Linked DNA regions of Homo sapiens: regions 2, 3, 4 and 5 are each linked to region 1. Evidence: promoter capture Hi-C in 16 types of primary human blood cells and fetal thymus (Javierre and others, 2016). All regions are on one chromosome and are shown on one strand. The core of a region is centred on a gene start or on the middle of the fragment in contact, and the rest is flanking DNA. Distances in the headings are between cores, read along the strand shown. Region 1 holds the start of RXYLT1-AS1 (RXYLT1 antisense RNA 1). Region 2 overlaps C12orf56 (chromosome 12 open reading frame 56). Region 3 overlaps C12orf56 (chromosome 12 open reading frame 56). Region 4 has its middle 40 kb from the start of KICS2. Region 5 has its middle 37 kb from the start of KICS2.

The links. The method cuts DNA at HindIII sites, captures the fragments that hold promoters and counts their contacts. A CHiCAGO score of 5 or more calls a contact.
Region 2: a fragment that was not itself captured here is called in contact with the fragment with the promoter of RXYLT1-AS1 in region 1 in 2 of 17 cell types (M0 macrophages and M1 macrophages); the score reaches 6.9 in M0 macrophages.
Region 3: a contact is called between a fragment that was not itself captured here and the fragment with the promoter of RXYLT1-AS1 in region 1, in 4 of 17 cell types (M2 macrophages, monocytes, M1 macrophages and 1 more). The highest score is 9.2, in M2 macrophages.
Region 4: a contact is called between a fragment that was not itself captured here and the fragment with the promoter of RXYLT1-AS1 in region 1, in 7 of 17 cell types (M2 macrophages, M0 macrophages, M1 macrophages and 4 more). The highest score is 11.7, in M2 macrophages.
Region 5: a fragment that was not itself captured here is called in contact with the fragment with the promoter of RXYLT1-AS1 in region 1 in 1 of 17 cell types (monocytes); the score reaches 5.2 in monocytes.

The regions. Positions count from the first base shown.
Region 1 is chr12:63,820,425-63,824,244 of GRCh38, forward strand. RXYLT1-AS1 (RXYLT1 antisense RNA 1) reads right to left here and starts at 1,732. Exons shown (of 4, transcript NR_126167.1): 1 at 1,505-1,732. MIR10527 (microRNA 10527) reads left to right here and starts at 3,239; the gene lies at 3,239-3,303. It also overlaps the pseudogene PABPC1P4. The HindIII fragment of the contact is 5,765 bases long and covers 1-2,299 here.
Region 2 is chr12:64,297,902-64,301,721 of GRCh38, forward strand. The region is part of intron 6 of C12orf56 (chromosome 12 open reading frame 56); the gene reads right to left. Among named protein-coding and RNA genes, the nearest start is that of KICS2, 78 kb to the left of the region's middle. The HindIII fragment of the contact is 156 bases long and covers 1,594-1,749 here.
Region 3 is chr12:64,277,437-64,281,256 of GRCh38, forward strand. C12orf56 (chromosome 12 open reading frame 56) reads right to left here. Exons shown (of 13, transcript NM_001170633.2): 9 at 244-367. Among named protein-coding and RNA genes, the nearest start is that of KICS2, 57 kb to the left of the region's middle. The HindIII fragment of the contact is 8,258 bases long and covers 1-3,820 here.
Region 4 is chr12:64,260,519-64,264,338 of GRCh38, forward strand. No RefSeq gene overlaps it. Among named protein-coding and RNA genes, the nearest start is that of KICS2, 40 kb to the left of the region's middle. The HindIII fragment of the contact is 639 bases long and covers 1,743-2,381 here.
Region 5 is chr12:64,183,574-64,187,393 of GRCh38, forward strand. It overlaps a transcript of KICS2 not described here. Among named protein-coding and RNA genes, the nearest start is that of KICS2, 37 kb to the right of the region's middle. The HindIII fragment of the contact is 767 bases long and covers 1,291-2,057 here.

The sequences.
Region 1 (3,820 bases), core at 482-2,981:
ACAAATCTAAAGAAGAGACAAAGAAGGTCACTATGTAAGGATAAAGGGGTCAGTTCAGCAAGAGGATATAACAATTTTAAATGTATATGTGCCCAACACTGGAGCACTCAGATATATAAAGTAAATATTATTAGAGCTAAAGAGAGAGATAGTTCCCAATATGATACTACCTGAAGACTTCAACACCCCACTTTCAGCACTGGACAGATCTTCCAGATAGAAAATTAATGAATTGGACCTAATCTGCATTATAAAACAAACGGATCTAATAGATATTTATGGAACATTTCATCCAATGGCTGCAGAACACACATTATTTTCCTCAGCACATAGATTATTCTCAAGAATAGACCATCTATTAGGTCACAAAATAAGTCTTAAAACATTAAAAAAAAAAAAAAAAAAACTGGGCCGGGTGCAGTGGCTCATGCCTGTAACCCAACACTTTGGGAGGCCGAGGCAGGCAGATCACAAGGTCAGGAGTTTGAGACCAGCCTGGCCAACATAGTGAAACCCCATCTCTACTAAAAATGCAAAAACTAGCCAGGCATGGTGGAACACACCTGTAGTCCCCGCTACTCGGGAGGCTGAGGCAAGGGAGTCACTCGAACCCAGGAGGCAGAGGTTGCAATGAGTTGAGATCACGCCACTGCACTCCAGCCCGGGTGACAGAGGGAGACTCAGTCTAAAAAAAACCCTGAAATAATATCAAGCATTTTCTCTGACCACAATGAAACAAAACTAGAAATTAATAACAAGAGGAATTTTGGAAACTATGCAAACATATGGAAATTAAACAATATACTCCTGAACGACCAGTGGATCAATGAAGTAATTAAAAAGGAAATTGAAATATTTATTGAATCAAATGATAATGGAAACACAACATACCAAAACCTATGGGATACAGCAAAAGCAGTACTAAGAGGGAATTTTATAGCTACAAGTGCCTACATCAGAAAAAAAGAAAAACTGGCCGGGCGTGGTGGCTCACGCCTGTAATCCCAGCACTTTGGGAGGGCTAGGCGGACAGATTACCTGAGGTCAGGAGTTCCATACCAGCCTGGCCAACATGGTGAAACCCCGTTTCTACTGAAAATACAAAAATTAGCCCCTTCTCCCGGCAGTTAGTGCTCAGAGTGCGGAGTGTGTGCTCCAGGCTCGGAACATACATTTATTATTAAAAAAAAATCTAAAAAAATATTTTAAAAACTTTCCCACAATTTACAAAAAATCCGCCTCTCCCCTGCCATAGACTTTTATTTTTTTCTTCTTCTTCTTTTATAAAGTAACCCCGTGAAGCAGCCGAGGCCGACTCGCCCGCCCGCAGCAGCTCCAAAAAGGAACCAAGAGACCGAGGCCTTCCCGCTGTCCGGACTGACACCTCCACCTTCGCCCGCAGCCAGCGGCAGCGGATCAACACCATTCTGGGGCGGTGAAGTAGTTTTCGATTCCGGGTGATTTTTGTCCCTCTGCGCTTGCGCTTGCGCTTGCCCCCGCTCACCTTCCCCCAGCTCCGGCCCCTAGCCCCAGCATTCGCTCTCCTCCTCTCACGGAAAGGTCGCGGCCTGTGGCCCTGCGAGCAGCAGTGCCGAGATGAACCCCAGTGCCCCCAGCTACGTCCTCGCTGTACGTGGGGGACCTCCATCCCGACGTGACCGAGGCGATGCTCTACAAGAAGTTCAGCGCGGCCGGGCTCATCCTCTCCATCCGGGTCTGCAGGGACATGATCACCCACGGCTCCTTGGGCTACGCGTATGTGAACTTCCAGTAGCCCGCGGACGCGGAGCATGCTGTGAACACTATGAATTTTGATGTTATAAAGGGCAAGCCAGTACGCATCGTGTAGTCTCAGCGTGATCCATCACTTCGCAAAAGTGGAGTGGGCTACATATTCATTAAAAATCTGGACAAATCCATTGATAATAAAGCACTGTATGATACATTTTTCTGCTTTTGGTAACATCCTTTCATGTAAGGTGGGCTGTGATGAAAATGATTCCAAGGGCTATGGATCTGTACACTTTGAGACACAGGAAGCAGCTGAAAGAGCTATGGAAAAAATGAATGGAATGCTCCTAAATGATCGCAAAGTATTTGTTGGACGATTTATGTCTCATAAAGAACGAGAAGCTGAACTTGGAGCTACGTGAAAGAGTTCACCAATGTTTACATCAAGAATTTCGGAGAAGACATGGATGATGAGCGCCTTAAGAATCTCTTTGGCAAGTTTGGGCCTGCCTTAAATGTGAAAGTAATGACTGGTGAAAGTGGAAAATCTAAAGGATTTGGATTTGTAAGCTTTGAAAGGCTTGAAGATGCACAGAAAGCTGTGGATGAAATGAAAGGAGCTCAATGGAAAACAAATTTATGTAGGTAGAGCTCAGAAAAAAGTGGAACGGCAGACAGAACTTAAGCGCAAATTTGAACAGGTGAGGCAAGATAGGATCACCAGATACCACCGTGTTAATCTTTATGTGAAAAATCTTGATGATGGCATTAATAATTAACGTCTCCGGAAAGAGTTTTCTCCATTTGGTACAATCACCAGTGCAAAGGTTATGATGGAGGGTGGTCGCTGCAAAGGGTTTGGTTTTGTATGTTTCTCCTCACCAGAAGAAGCCACTAAAGCAGTTACAGAAATGAATGGTAGAATTGTGGCCACAAAGCCATTGTATGTTGCTTTAGCTCAGCGCAAAGAAGAGTGCCAGGCTCACCTCACTAACCAGTATATGCAAAGAATGGCAAGTGTACGAGCTGTGCCCAATCTTGAAATCAACCCCTACCAGCCAGCACCTCCTTCAGGTTACTTCATGGCAGCTATCCCACAGACTCAGAACGGTGCTGCATACTATCCTCCTAGCCAAATTGCTCAACTAAGACCAAGTCCTCGCTGGACTGCTGAGGGTGCCAGACCCCATCCATTCCAAAATAGGCCCAGTGCTATCCGCCCGGCTGCTCCTAGACCACCATTTAGTACTATGAGACCAGCTTCTTCACAGGTTCCATGAGTTATGTCAACACAGCGTGTTGCTAACACATCGACACAGACAATGGGTCCACGTCCTGCAGCTGCTGCTGCTGCCACTCCACATTATAACTATGCTGCGGGAGTTCGCAGTCCTCAGAAACATCTTAATGCACAGCCACAAGTTACAATGCAACAGCCTGCTGCTCATGTACAAGGTCAGGAACCTTTGACTGCTTCCATGTTGGTATCTGCCCATGCTCAAGAGCAAAAGCAAATGTTGGGTGAACGGCTGTTTCCTCTTATTCAAGCCATGCACCTTACTCTTGCTGGTAAAATCACTGGCATGTTGTTGGAGATTGGTAATTCAGAACTTCTTCATATGCTGGAGTCTCCAGAGTCACTCCGTTCTAAGGTTAATGAAACTGTAGCTGTACTACAAGCCCACCAAGCTGAAGTGGCTGCCCAGAAAGCAGTTAACCGTGCCACCGGTGTTCCAACTGTTTAAAATTGATCAGGTACCATGAAAAGAAACTTGTGCTTCACAGAAGAAAAATATCTAAACATCGAAAAATGTAAATATTATTTTTTTAATAAACATTGCAAAATATAAAATAAATTTAAAAAGGAAAAGAAACTTTGAACCTTATGTACCGAGAAAATGCCAGGTCTAGCAAACATAATGCTAGTCCTAGATTACTTATTGATTTAAAAATTTTAAAAAAACACAAAAATAGTAAAATATGAAAACCAATTAATGTTTTATAGACTCTGGGAAAAAATTTTCAGCAAAGTGCAAAAATTTAAAGCATTCCTTTCTTTAATTTTGTAATTCTTTACTGTGGAATAGTT
Region 2 (3,820 bases), core at 422-2,921, 480 kb after region 1:
CTAATGGGATTGCTGAGTTAAATGGTATTTCTAGTTCTAGGTCCTTGTGGAATCGCCACACTGCCTTCCACAATGGTTGAACTAATTTACACTCCCACCAACAGTGTAAAAGCATTCCTATTTCTCCACATCCTCTCCAGCATCTGTTGTTTCCTGACTTTTTAATGATCACCATTCTAACTGGCATGAGATGGTATCTCATTGTGGTTTTGATTTGCATTTCTCTAATGACCAGTGATGATGAGCTTTTTTTCATGTTTGTTGGCTGCATAAATGTCTTCTTTTGAGAAGTGTCTGTTCATATCCTTTGCCCACTTTTTGATGGGGTTGTTTTTTGCTTGTAAATTTGTTTACGTCCTTTGTAGATTCTGGATATTAGCCCTTTGTCAGATGGATAGATTGCAAAAATTTTCTCTCGTTCTGTAGGTTGTCTGTTCACTCTGATGATAGTTTCTTTTGCTGTGCAGAAGCTCTTTAGTTTAATTAGATCCCATTTGTCAATTTTGGCTTTTGTTGCCATTGCTTTTGATGTTTTAGATATGAAGTCTTTGCCCATGCCTGTGTCCTGAATGGTATTGCCTAGGTTTTCTTCTAGGACTTTTATGGTTTTAGGTCTTATGTTTAAGTCTTTAATCCACCTTGAGTTAATTTTTGTATAAGGTGTAAGGAAGGGGTCCAGTTTCAGTTTTCTGCATATGGCTAGCCAGTTTTCCCAGCACCATTTATTAAATAGGGAATCCTTTCCCCATTGCTTGTTTGTGTCAGGTTTGTCAAAGATCAGATGGTTGTAGATGTGTGGTGTTATTTCTGAGGGCTCTGTTCTGTTCCATTGGTCTATATGTCTGTTTTGGTACCAGTACCATGCTCTTTTGGTTACTGTAGCCTTGTAGTATAGTTTGAAGTCAGGTAGTGTGATGCCTCCAGCTTTGTTCTTTATGCTTAGGATTGTCTTGGCTATGCGGGCTCTTTTTTGGTTCCATATGAACTTTAAAGCAGTTCTTTCCAATTCTGTGGAGAAAGTCAATAGGTAGCTTGATGGGGATAGCATTGAATCTATAAATTACTTTGGGCAGTTATGGCCATTTTCACGATATTGATTCTTCCTATCCATGAGCATGAAATGTTTTTCCATTTGTTTGTGTCCTCCCTTATTTCCTTGAGCAGTGGTTTGTAGTTCTCCTTGAAGAGGTCCTTCACATTCCTTGTAAGTTGTATTCCTAGGTATTTTATTCTCTTAGTAGCAATTGTGAATGGGAGTTCACTCATGATTTGGCTCTCTGTTTGTCTGTTATTGGTGTATAGGAATGCTTGTGATTTTTGTGCATTGATTTCGTATCCTGAGACTTTGCTGAAGTTGCTTTGATAAGCTTAAGGAGATTTGGGCTGAGACGGTGAGGTTTTCTAAATATACAATCATGTCATCTGTGAACAGAGACAATTTGACTTCCCCTTTTCCTATCTGAATTATTTCCTTCTCCATTCACTTTGGCCTTTCATTTTTGATAACTGAATTAGAAGATTTGTTTTAGCCCAGGTAAGAATATTATATTAAATAATGGCTGCAGTGTTTTCAAGTATAAAACAGATCATGAAAGCTTCATTTTTAGACATTGGATTAGGTTAATATTTCACAAGAGAACAGATTTGCAATTCAGTATGAATAACTTACAGCACCTGGAATATGCATGCATTGTGTTTTGGCCTGAGGGAGAATACAAAGATAAGTAAGACATATACTTGTCCTAAAGAAGCTTTTAGCATATTAAGATAAATAAGAAAAATGTGCCAATCACTATAGTAAAAGGGAGGATATCTGTGCTAATTCTCGATGGTAGAAACTGTATCATAATCATGCTATATTTCTAATACCTATCACCAAGCCTCACACAGATTAGGCATGAAAACTGTCTGTTAATTGTTAAAGAGGAAGTGCTATGAAAGATGTCATAGAACTACATTGTTCAACTCGGTAGCTACTGCCCACAAGTGTCTATTTAAATTAATGTAAATTTAATAAAATTAACGTTTTACTTTTTTAGTCACTAGTCACATTCAAGTGCTTAATAGCCACATGTGGCTAGTGTCTGCTGTATTGAACAATGCAGATTATAAAACTTCAAAGAAAGTTCTATGGCATGGAATTGACAGAGAAGATCAAAAGGAGGAAGGTACTAAAGTTCCCCATTAGGCATGACAGGAAAGGCAGAAAATGGCATTTGAGCTGAGCCTTGATGAATGGGTATGATTTTTAACAAGAGAAATTAGAAGAAGAGTATTCTAGAGAAAGCAAGCAGCAGGGAGAAAGGAGAGCTAAGGAGAACAAGTATCCAAGTTATCCTACATGGCTCGATCTTGTAGAGGACAGAGGTGAGAGAGAAGATGAAGTGGCGGGTCAGGTCTGTGAATCCTAACCTTACTCTCTTTCTCTCCATTCTTTTTTTGTTCCACAGCCTAGGCCACAGGTATCAGGCCTGTTTTTAAACTGAAGATGCTTAAATGACCTCCAGACTAACACTGGTGCTGATCCCATTAGGAATACACATCAACATCCTTCTTAATCTAACCCTTAAGTGGTACTTCAGTTCTCCTACCTAGACATGCACTTTAAATCCAGTCCCTGATTGTGTCCAGTGTATCTGGGTGGACTTCCCCTTTGAGCACTGTCCTAAGTCCTTTCCCAGTCCTCTCCTAACTGCTGGCTTTACTCTTGACAATCTTTATGTCCTCACATTCCATAAAACCCTGTTCCCACACCCTAAACAAGCAGATCTTCCTGGTGCCAAATGTTTGTGCAGACATCCAGTTGTAATTCACCCACATGCTAAAATATCCTGATATTTCATTTTGCTCACTCTTATGTAGAGATCACTCTCACCTTTGGGCACTGTGCCTTTTCCATGAGCATCTACATCTGGATTCATTTTCCCAGTGCCCACCTTATCCAGATGGTAGCCTGATATGTTCTGGTTCTGTGTTCCCACCCAAATCTCATCTTGAATTGTAATCCCCACTGTCGAGGGAGGGTCCTGGTGGGAGGTGATTGGATCATGCATGCTGTTTTCACGATGGTGAGGGAGTCCTCATGAGATCTGATGGTTTAAAAGTGGCAGTTTCCCCTGCACATTCTCTCTCTCTCTCCTGTTGCCATGTAAGACATGCCTTGCTTCCCCTTCGCCTTCTGTCATGATTGTAAGTTTCCTGAGGCCTCCCAGCCATGTGGAACTGTAAGTCTGTGGCAGGCCAGGTCTTCATAACAGCTGAACAGACAGGCCTCCATAACAACTGTTCCGGTACTGACTGAGTGGTTATGTTAAATATTAAAAGCTGATAGAGCCAGTGTCCTTTCACAAAGGCTGGGATGTAACAAAAACCCACCAAGAGTTTTGCCTAGGCCTTTCCTGGGCCTTGAAGCATGACAAGATAATGAAGGAATTCTTAACAGGACCTGTTTAGAATTAAACAAGTTTTACTGGGGGTCTGAAGAAACTCCTCAGGCCGCCACAAACAAGTTTATTGGCAGTCTGAAGGAACTCCCCAAACCTCCGTGATTTAGCAGGAGGCAAGATAAGGGTAATCACCCCAGGACCTGGACCCATTTAGATTGAGTAAATTTACTGAGGCCCCAGAAGAAGGTTTTCAGGACCTTCCTTAGGTCCTGATCTAATCTTAGTTATAGATTAAAAGAAGTTAATCACTTACGTCTTTAGATGAATGCATTTACATGTAGACATATAGCTTAGAAGGTATATAAGCTCTGGAAAACTTTGTAATTTTGAATTGGTCTGGCGATAATTTCCAGGCCTTTCCCTTCTTTCCCAGT
Region 3 (3,820 bases), core at 805-3,304, 460 kb after region 1:
ACATATAAAAGGGATATATTAATATTGACTGAATAGTTATTTTTTCCTTTTTCTTGACCCTCTAAATCTCTAAATCTACTTTAGACTGACTAGTTATCTAAGTTTTGAGGTTAATGACAAAAGATCTACTCTTTGGTTTAATTATGTTTCTCTATTCTACGGTGTCATGGTCCACATTAAAAGAAGCCAGGGCCCCTATATATATATATATATAATAGTTTACCCCCCAAATTCTCATCTCACCTCAGCGTCAAAAGACATTCTGACTAAAGCTGAATCAGCCACCAACTGGATATCAAACACAGGACAAGATTTTGGAATCTGAGGCTCACTAATTAAAATTACCAAGAGATTAAATAGTGCTCCCCTGGAAAAAAATAAATAAAAGGCAATTAGTGAGCAAAGTGTTGAGAGGAAAAATGGTGAAGCCAAGTTTCAAACACTGGATATAATTATGTTTAAAAGAATGAAGCATTGCAGACCATCCTTGACTGAAGTTTTGGATCCTTGGACACGCAAATGAATAACTAGAGATAAAAAATTTAAATGAAAATATAACTTCTTGGTCTTCTGGCTCAGAGCGAGTGTAGTTCTAGAAGTCCACATAGCTTAGAAAGACTAGAAAATCTGGATTTAAGGGAGATTTGGGTAATTTCAATTATAGCATTATTTTCCAAAGGACTTTTTATGGATTGCTAATTCCAGACAATATTATAGTTAAAATAGATTCTGTGGTCAAAGGAGATAGGGGAAATACTTGGTTAAACCAAGTTCATCAGATGTGTTTACTACAGGACTTCTCAGAGGCTTTATATGCTAATATGCACAGTGTATCTCTGGGACAAAGCAACAGTATGCAGCTCTTCTTTTTTCTTTTTTTAGGTTTGTTTGCTTGGGTTATTTTTGGCACAGGATCTCATGATGTTGCCCGGGCTGGTCTTGAACTACTGGACTCAAGTGATCCCCTGCCTCAGCCAAGTAGCTGAGATTACAGGCTTGAGCGACCACTTTCAGTTTTTACTTTTTTTAATTGATAATAAAAATTGTATATATTTATGGTATACAACATGATGTTTTGAAATATGTATATACTGTAGAATGTGTACATATTTTATAAATCAAGCGAATTGACGTATGCATCACCTCACATGCTTATTTTTATATAGTGAGAACACAAAATCTATTGTCAGCAATTTTCAAGTATACAGGACATTGCTATTAACTATGGTCACCATATTTGTATGATTGATCTCTGGAACTTCTTCCTCCTGTCTAACTGAAGTTTTGTACCCTTTGACCAACATCTCCCAATTCCACCCCGCCCCTAAGCCTCTGACAACCACCATTCTACACTCTCTGTTTTTATGAGTTTGGCTTTTTTAGATTCCATATATAAGTGAGATCATGCATGAACTCAAAAGTCAAACTCGTATTTGTCTTTCTGTGCCTGGCTTATTTCACTTAGCCTAATATCCTCCAGTTTCATCCATGTTGTCACAAATAACAAGACTTCATTTTTATGGCTGAATAATATTCCATTGTGTATATGTACCACATTTTCTTTATCCATTCACCCATTGCTGGACAGTAAGTTTGCTTCCTTTTCTTGGTTTCTGTTAATAATGTACAGCATTTCTTTTTTTTAAATATAAAAATTTTTAAACATAAAGATGGGGTCTTGCTTTGTTGCCCAGGCTGGACTTGAACCCCTGGCCTAAAGCAATCTGCCCACCTCAGCCTCTCAAAGTGCTTGGATGACAGGCATGAGCCTCCACACCCAACTCCACCATTTTGTAAAATGCTTATTTGATCCCAAAAAACCTCAGTTATTTTACTTTCCAATGTGGGGTACCGTCCATTGATAACTCACTTAAATGTTACATGTGCATCCTGATGAGCTGGGTTAATAACGCTATCTCCTCCTATTGGGTAGTATAACCCCTGTATGGTTGAAAAGCAGCTGAAGGCAGACTGCTAAAAACTCAGTTGCCTAATTGAAGACAATGTCAGAGTAGATTTGAGGGGTAGGAGTAGTAAAATAATTCAAAGATAGTACTATACAAAAGTTCTCCATAACCATAAGCATTCCTTTCATAATGGAAAAAAGGAGGGTGAGTATAAATACCCTTGTTTAGTAGGATCTGAGGCTTTCTAATCTTCTTAGAATCATTTAAATCATCACCATGATTAGAAGCTCATGATTAACCTACACTCTAGTAAAAATACAATGCTCTTCCTTTCTCCAAGTCAAAAAGCAAGTCTAGTTCTTATATTTGGAAAGAAGAATCATGTCAGTTAGTACATTTCTCACAAAAGCAGGATATACCCTACAGGGTATTTAATAATGTTTTATTCAGGCTATTTAAAATGGCCAATCTTACTTTGAGAAGACCCTTTTAAAATCAACAGAACACTCCCTTTAGAAGTGTTTCTTGATATTGTTTGAACTGGCATTCCATTCACTGTTATATTTAATTATAGTCCTTTATTTTCAGTAACAGCTTATTTTCAAAGTATCATACATCCAAAGCAAAGAAAAAGAACTCTCAAATTATGGGTCACTTGCTATGATAACATATGAATTCAACCCTAACAATACTAGGATATGAAAAAATATGGCACATTTCAAGAAAGTTACAGCAAAGTATGTTGAACTAATGAAATCTCCACTCATGAAAACAATAAAGAGGAAAATGCTGAAATGATTAACCGCTTTTTTATTTACCCAAATGGAATTTAATTTGAAATCCACCCCTTCTGCTAATTCAATTTAAAATCCACTAGGACAATAATAGATAGAAGAAATTTTAATCAAAATGGTAGTTTCATCCTGAAAATAGAGATAACTTAGAGGATTGACATCACAGCCTTAAAAACAGTCCCAACAGTTTAATACTTTATTGTTTAGGTTGTTATTATTTCTAATGTATGAATTTTGAATGTACTACAATATCTTTAAAAATACAGACTTTGAAGGCCACATCGATAGTCTCCTAAGTCAGTCCATGTTATTGTGGTGGGCAGAAATCTAACGTGGCTTCCAAAATTCCCAGCCTGCTGGTACAAACCCTATCAAATTCCTTCCCCTTAAGTATGGGCAATAGCTCTGAATATGTTTGTCTGTCACTCTTGTGATTATGTTACATGAAATGGGAAAGATGAAGGGATTCTGAGAATATAATAAAGGCCCTAATTGGCTGACTGTTGAGTTAATCAAAAGAAGATTATCCAGAGTAGGCTTGCTCTAATCAGGTGAGCCCCGAAAAAGAGATACTCTCCTGCAAAGAAACAAGCCACCTGAGTCCCACAGCTGTAAGGAAATTTAGTCTGCCAGCAATCACCCAAATGAGCTAGGAAGAGTCCCAAGCCTCAGATGAGACTATGGCCTGGCCAACACCTCAACTGAAACCTCGTGAGACCCTGGGCAAAGGATCCAGTTAAGCTGTGCCCAGATTTCTGATCCACTGACACTGTGAGATAAGAAATACATGTTGTTTTAAGCCACTAAGTTTGTGATAATTTGTTATATGGCAATAGAAAACTAATACAATTTTGGCTGGGCACGGTGGCTCATACTTGTAATCCCAGCACTTTGGGAGGCCGACGGGGGGTGGATCACCTGAGGACAGGAGTTCAAGACCAGCCTGACTAACATGGTGAAACCCCGTCTCTACTAAAAATACAAAATTAGCAGGGTGTGGTGGTGCATGCCTGTAATCCCAGCTATTCAGGAGGCTGAGGCACAAGAATTGCTTGAACCCAGGGGGCGGAGATTACAGTCAGCCAAGATCGCACCATTGCACTCCAGCCCTGGCGACAG
Region 4 (3,820 bases), core at 812-3,311, 440 kb after region 1:
GAAGTTATATTGATTTCCATGTTCAAAATACCACCGTCCCTTTAAAAAATGGATTGTAGGGGTCAAAAGTGACTAAATAGGCTATTACAGTAGTTGCTGGAGATTCAAACTAGGGTAATAGCCATAATTATGAGAAGTCAGTAGATCAGGAATATATCTTGAAGAAATTGCCAATAAGCACTGCTGATGGGTTACATTTGGGGAATAAAGAGAAGGGAGGAAACAGATCCCTCAGGTTTCTCTTTTGAGTAGTGGAGTGAATGGAGTGCCATTCACTTAGAGGGAGAGACTAGTGGAAGAACAGACTTTTACTGTCACATAAGGCAATCAAGAAAATTAATTCCATTCTGAAAATGTTTAGGTATGTTATAACCACACAATAATTTGTAAGTGAATTCTATGACTTGATGTATGGTTTATGCAAATCTGTGCAAGAATAAGCCATGCTATAACAAAGTGTCAAACTACTTGGGAAATGAGAATAAACCATATACTGTATATTTAAAGTACAAGGTCACTAAGCAAGTGAGTATTTCTGTTAAGATAATAGCTACCATTTATTGAGGGCTTGCTGTTTGTTTGAACCATATGGAATTGCAGATCCCAACATTTTCGGACTTGAAAATGGCAATGCTATATGGGTCATCCTAATATATAGTAACCATAGAATTAGATGTTTATATACAAATTAATTAATATTCACATATTCACAAAAACCCTTAAGGTAGGCTTCTTACTATCTCATAGTTTACAAAATAAAGGTTCTGGAAGATTTAAAATAACCTGCCAAAAGTCTGATGACAAGTAAGAACAAGGTCTGACATAGCATCTTATCCCAAAAGTTACACTACCCAGATTTCTAGCCAAGGAATCATGTTGCCTTCCCCAAAATGACAAAAGCTTCAGATCCACAAGGCACAGAAATACAGAGAAGTGCTTGGTCTGACGGCATGGAGAATGGCTGTCTCCCCACTATAGATACCCAAATTCAAGTTGACCTTACAAGCCTGCACTGCATTTATTTTATTTTATTTTATTTTTTATTTATTTTTTGAGACAGAGTCTTGCTCTGTTGCCCAGGCTGGAGTGCAGTTGTGCAATCTCGGCTCCCTGCAACCTCTGCCTCCTGGGTTCAAGTGATTCTCCTGCCTCAGCCTCCCGAGTAGCTGGGATTACAGGCACCTGCCACCATGCCCAGCTAATTTGTGTATTTTTAGTAGAGACAGGGCTTCACCATACTGGCCAGGCTGGGCCCGAACTCCTGACCTCAAGTGATCTGCCCACCTCGGCCTCCCAAAGTGTTGGGATTACAGGTGTGAGCCACCACGCCCGGCCTGTACTGCATTTTAGAAGCAAATCCAATGAACAAAGAGCAATCAGACAGTAATTTAACACTATTAAGAGTTGTTCAAAAATTCCCACCATGAACCTGGCATGCTGGCATGTACCTGCAGTCTCAGCTACTCGAGAGGCTGAGGCAGGAGGATTGCCTGAGCCCAGGAGTTTGAGGCTGTGGTGTGCTGTGATCTCACCTGTGAGTAGCCGTTGCACTACAGCCTGGCCAATATAGCAAGACCCCATCTCAAGAAAAAAAAAATCAAATTTATCTCGTCAAGAATTTTCAGCTTCTCTTCCATATTTATCACTGAACCTCTCTAATATGCAAATATGTGAAATATAAAACAAATGGTTGTAGCCTCAGAAAAAATATAATGGCACAGGTTGAAGCTTAGCAGCCAAAAAGCTTTCACTATGCTTATCAGCTGCCTTATAGAACATTTATTAATGTACTCTCAAGCATCTTCATGCAAAATTAAAAGTGGTACCGCCAGTGAGTGAGATTCAATATGAAATTATGTAAAACATGCTATCAGTTATAGGAACTTCAGGCTTTTCCCTCTTTGCACAGTAGCTAGAGTATCTAAATTTCAGTAAAACTCAAGAAATTTGGCTGGGCACAGTGGCTCATCCCTGTAATCCTAGCACTTTGGAAGGCCGAGGCGGGCAGATCACTTGACGTCAGGAGTTCGAGACCAGCCTGGCCAACATAGTGAAACCGTCTCTACTAAAAATACAAAATTAGCTGGGTGTGGTGGCACATGCCTGTAATCCCAACTACTCGGGATGCTGAGGCAGGAGAATTGCTTGAGCCCAGGAGGTGGGGCTGCAGTGAGCCAAGATCGTGCCATTGCACTCCAGCCTGGGGGGCAAGAGTGAAACTCAAAAAAAAAAAAAAAAAGAAAAGGAATACTTCATGTATCTCCTCTAACACTACCTGTAAATCCATTTGGAACTCTGTAAGTAAAGAATGGCTATTTCAATTTGGTCACTTAGCAATTACCCGTTCAAGTCAAAGGCTGAAAAAAGTTTAGGAACTAAAAAGCTTTCTGTCCACCCTTGGAAAGAGTGTTTTCCACGTAGATCTTCCATTGATGGCGCTAATTAGAGCCAACACTCTTTCCTGGTGGTAAGCAGTGAAAATAGTCACTTGTCAGGCCGGGCATGGTGGCTCACGCTTGTAATCCCAGCACTTTGGGAGGCTGAGGCCGGTGGATCACCTGAGGTCAGAAGTTCGAGACCAGCCTGGCCAACATGGTGAAACCCGTCTCTACTAAAAATACAAAAAAATTGCCAGGCGTGGTGGTGGGAGCCTGTAATCCCAGCTACTTGGGAGGATGAGGCAGCAGAATCGCTTGAACCCGGGAGGCAGAGGTTGCAGTTAGCCAAGGTTGTGCCATTGCACTCCAGCCTGGGCAAGTAGAGTGAAACTCAGTCTCAAAAAAAAAAAAAAAAATTCAAATGAATCTGTTCTCCAATGCTCTATAGACCAGGGGTTCTATGAGTACAGCGGCTGGTCCTCAGATTGGTTAAAAAAATAAGGCAATATTTATTAGTCTCTAAATTCTCACCCAGCTTTGTTAACTTTAACAATATATACCCCAAGTCTTTACTGCATGTCAGATACCGTGCTGTGTGCTAAAGCATTTATGTTTTCATTTAAATCTCCTAACACCCTTTGCAGTAGGTTATATTATCTTTGCTTTAACTGCAGCTTACAAATATTTGTAACTTCCTAAGGTCCAAAACAAGTGCAGAACTGGAATTTAAACCATTTCGGCTCCAAAACCAGTGTTCTTACCCGCATTATATATAGATGAAATTTTAAAATTATAATTATATATAATTACATATAATCTCTATATATTATTTACATATATATTTTTAATTTTTTAATTTTTATATTTTTATTTATTTTTTGAGATGGAGTCTCACTCTGTAACCCAAGCTGGAGTGCAGTGGTGCGATCTCGGCTCACTGCAACCTCCGCCTCCCGGGTTCAAGTGAGTCTCGTGCCTCAGCCTACCCCGATTAGCTGGGACTACAGGTGTGCGCCACCACGCCCAGCTAATTTTTTATTTTACTAGAGACAGGGTTTCACCATGTTACCACCATGTTCGTGGTCTTGAACTCCGTTGCTCGGGCAATCCACCTACCTTGGCCTCCCAAAGTGTTGGGATTGCAGGCATGAGCTACCGTGCACAGCCTATTTACATATATTTTTTATTTATTTATTTATTTATTTATTTATTTATTTATTTATTTATTTTTTGAGACAGAATCTTGCTCGGTCACCCAGGCTGGAGTGCAGTGGTGCAATCTCGGCTCACTGCAACCTCCGCCTCCGGGGTTCAAGCGATTCTCCTGCCTCAGCCTCCTGAGTAGCTGGGACTACAGGCGCGTGCCAACACACCCGGCTAATTTTTGTATTTTTAGTAGAGACGGGATTTCACCATGCTGGCAAGGCTGGTCTCGAAATCCT
Region 5 (3,820 bases), core at 424-2,923, 360 kb after region 1:
CAGCCATCTCTTCCCCCTGAACCATATTCTTTCTCCAGGGAAGGAAAAATGAAAGCCTTGCAGGTAATAAGGCCAATCCTACTCCAAGTATCTCCTCAAAGTATTTTCTCTAAACATTTAATACTTTCCCTAAGAATTTTCTTACCAGCTGTTAAGTAGTTGACATTTTTTCAATATTGTTACAATTCCCACCTGTAAAGTTTGATAAATCTATACGATTTTTTTTTAAAGCTAGATATCTCTTCAGGTGCTGGTGGTCCCCCTTCCTTGGAAGTTAATTCCCTGAGGACAGAGACAAAAAACTTATCTTCCTCTCCTCAATGTCATTCATCCATCCTTTTAAAATCAAGCAAGACTATAGGGGCTCAACTTTAATAACATAAAACATTATTGCTCCTGGAGATCTGTGTTGGTTTTCAAACTAAAAATGACATTTAATAAATACTATAAGAAGCACTTTCTCAAGCTTTCCAAGGACAACTATACTTGCTAGACTAGATAGTTACATTCACAAAAACTGGCCTTGTTATTAAAAAACATAGTAGGAAAAAATATGCAAATAAGTCACTTTGTCTGTATAAATGGTTTACTGTGGAACTGAATGATTCCACATCAACTTAGCCGTATATAATTTGGTCAAAAACTTTAACTGGAATGTCCAGGCCTTGGCCAATGGGAGCTTAAAATGAGGTCACATTTATTTGCTAATATCCATTAGGAAAATGTCAACTCCCCATTCTGCTTAATTACAGGAATTCCAGGCTCTTGACAAATTCCTCTGCTTACTATTTCTGGAAATCAGGACTCCAATCCAGTTGTCTGCTGCCTCCGCCACTCATCTGCCTCCTGACCACATTCCCTGTACACAGGCTGACAGGGGCTCTGTGGCATACCACCTTTGGCAATTCCTGGACTCAACCTTCCTCCTGCTACTGCTGCCCTCCCCTAAAAGAAGGCAGAAAACCCTCTTTTAATTCTTTGATCACATTGCTCAGCCCATCCACAACTTTTAGCAAAAACTTCTTGGAAAGTTCAGGAAAATAGAAGGGGGCATTATGGCATCAATATCTCAAAGCTGTACTGTATGTGGTGATTCCCAGAGAACAGCAGTTCAGATGTACCTCATGTCCCTTCAAGCTGGGATTCTACTGAGATATGGAAATATTATTCAAAAGATATGAGAATAGAGATCATTTTAAGAAAATCAATTTTTAGGAAATCAATTTCAGATTCCTCAACTTCCATATGAACTCTCTCCTAAGAACCTGTGAAAGTGCTTTTAGTAAACTAAGCTTTTTCTACCTTCTCCTTTAATAACTGCCTTTCTCTTACCAAAAAATAAACTTACCTCTCACCCATACGTTTACCATAGCGTATTAGGAGACCATTTTCCATGGGTTTTTTCATGTTCTGCAGGTCTTGAGAGTAAGGCATCAACTGCCCTTAGTTCTGCACTATCTCTACAGGTTTCAGTGGGAAGATGGCTCTGCCATCACCATGTCAGACTTCTAGCCTGCAGAACTGAGAGACAATACATTTCTGTTGCTTTAAACCATCCAATTTTTGGTATTTTGTTATGGGAGCTCTAGGAAACCAACACACTTACTGGCTGGAATAGGAATGTCTCCCTCTGGAGCAAAGGGAAGGCATGCTTACAAACCATTATAAAAGATTGGGGGACGGGCACGGTGGCTCACACCTGTAATTCTAGCACTTTGGGAGGCCGAGGCGGGCGGATCACGAGGTCAGGATATCAAGACCATCCTGGCTAACACGGTGAAACCCCGTCTCTACTAAAAATACAAAAAAATTAGCCGAGCATGGTGGCAGGCACCTGTAGTCCCAGCTACTCGTGAGGCTGAGGCAGGAGAATGGCATGAACCCGGGAGGCGGAGCTTGCAGTGAGCCGAGATCACGCCACTGCACTCCAGCCTGGGCGACAGAGTGAGACTCTGTCTCAAAAAAAAAAAAAATTGGGTTTCCAAAGATCAGAATTCTCACATGCATGTGAGCAGGCATCCATCTGGGCCCATCCACATTGGCCCTGATAGAACTGAAGCTTAAGAAATCAAAAATGCAAAAATGATGTTATCCAGCCCCTGCTATTACTAGAATAACTGTCTTGTGTCTTCTGTCCACATCTGTGAAACTATGTCAGGGAAAGTTGTTAGCTAGCAAATACGGTAAAATTGCAAATCCTTCCCAGTTTTTAACATGGGGTATTATTATCATAGGGTGTAAAAATATCTGTCCAACAAACAAAAGAACATTTAGACAATTTCTTTAACCAAATCACTGTAATATTATACCTATTCAAATTTCAATGTATTTCAAATTAAATATAACTTTTTTTTTTTTTGTCTTTTGAGACAGAGTCTCGCTCTGTCACCCAGGCTGGAGTGCAGGAGTGTGATCTCATCTCACTGCAACCTCTGCCTCCCAGGTTCAAGCGATTCTCCTTCCTTAGCCTCTCGAGTAGCTGGGATTACATGCGCCCACCACCATGCCCGGGTAATTTTTTGTATTTTTAGTAGAGACCGGTTTTACCATGTTGGCCAGGCTGGTCTTGAACTCCTGACCTCAAGTGATCCACCACCTCGGCCTCTCAAAGTGCTGGGATTACAGGCGTGAGCCACCGCACCCAGCCAAATGTAATTTTTTAAGTTTAATATTTATTAAAATGTCATTTGGTCATTAAACTCTTAGAGCCTATGGTAACACAAAAAACACTTACATCTATAATATACTGAGTAATATTTAATAAGGTAACCAATAAGACTGTTAAGCAAAAAATAAATTCATTTTAGGATAAAATTCTTCAGAAGAAGAAGAATGGAGTTCAGGGAGCAAAAGGAATCAAACAATATTTCCAACTGTTACAAAGCGTGTTAAAGTATTTTTAAAAATGGAAAATGGTAGCTATCAAAACTCTATTGTACCAACATTTCACTGGATACATTTAAAAGACCGAATAACATTTTAAAATGCCAATATTTACAATACATAATAAAATGCTTCTTTTGAGGCTATTTAAACATAATGATTTTAGATATTCTTTTAAAAAATCAATCAGAGTCTCATGGTTTTTCCAAAATTTGTAGGGAGGTATGCAAGTAACAAGTTTGAAGACTATTCACTGCCTACTTGTTACAGCCCTTTCAGCTCCTGGCCACCCGGGTGGCTGGGGCCAGGTCACCTTATTTCAAGCATCAACCAAGCAGACACCATGTTGGTCTTGGTTAACTGCTATATCATTACCCTTAACATAGTTGATGTTAAATTAATGAATGTTGAATATTAGAAATCATTCACCTCTTTCCATCCACTTCTGCTTCAGGGACTGCTCTGACACTGGCCTAGCCTGAAATGACTGACATCAGGATGACCCTGGGGGGTAAAGGGTGTGCCCTACATTGTCGTATCTTGTCATAACAAAAGTGAAATGAGTCTAGACCTAAGCTGGATCAACCGGCTGAGTCATAAATCTCAGACTGAATCAGGCATTAGATTTACAAATTTAACTGGATTGTAGAATTACTCTACAGTTTTTAGGACCAGCAAAAGCAGAATTCACTCTCTAGGGACAAAGTTAGCAAAAGTCCCAATGACTGTCTTCCTTTCCTAGATCAATGTCAAGCGCCATCCTCCGTTTTCCGGCCATTCTCGCCGCACGTCTAAGCAGTCATCTTTCAGGATGCAGTCCCATGTCATTGCCTCTTGTGACCCTCTCCTGAGTGCTACCATCACTTAGAACCCTAACCCCAGATTCTGACATTAGGAGGGACTACAGAAGGGGGAACCCATTTGCATCTCTCCATTT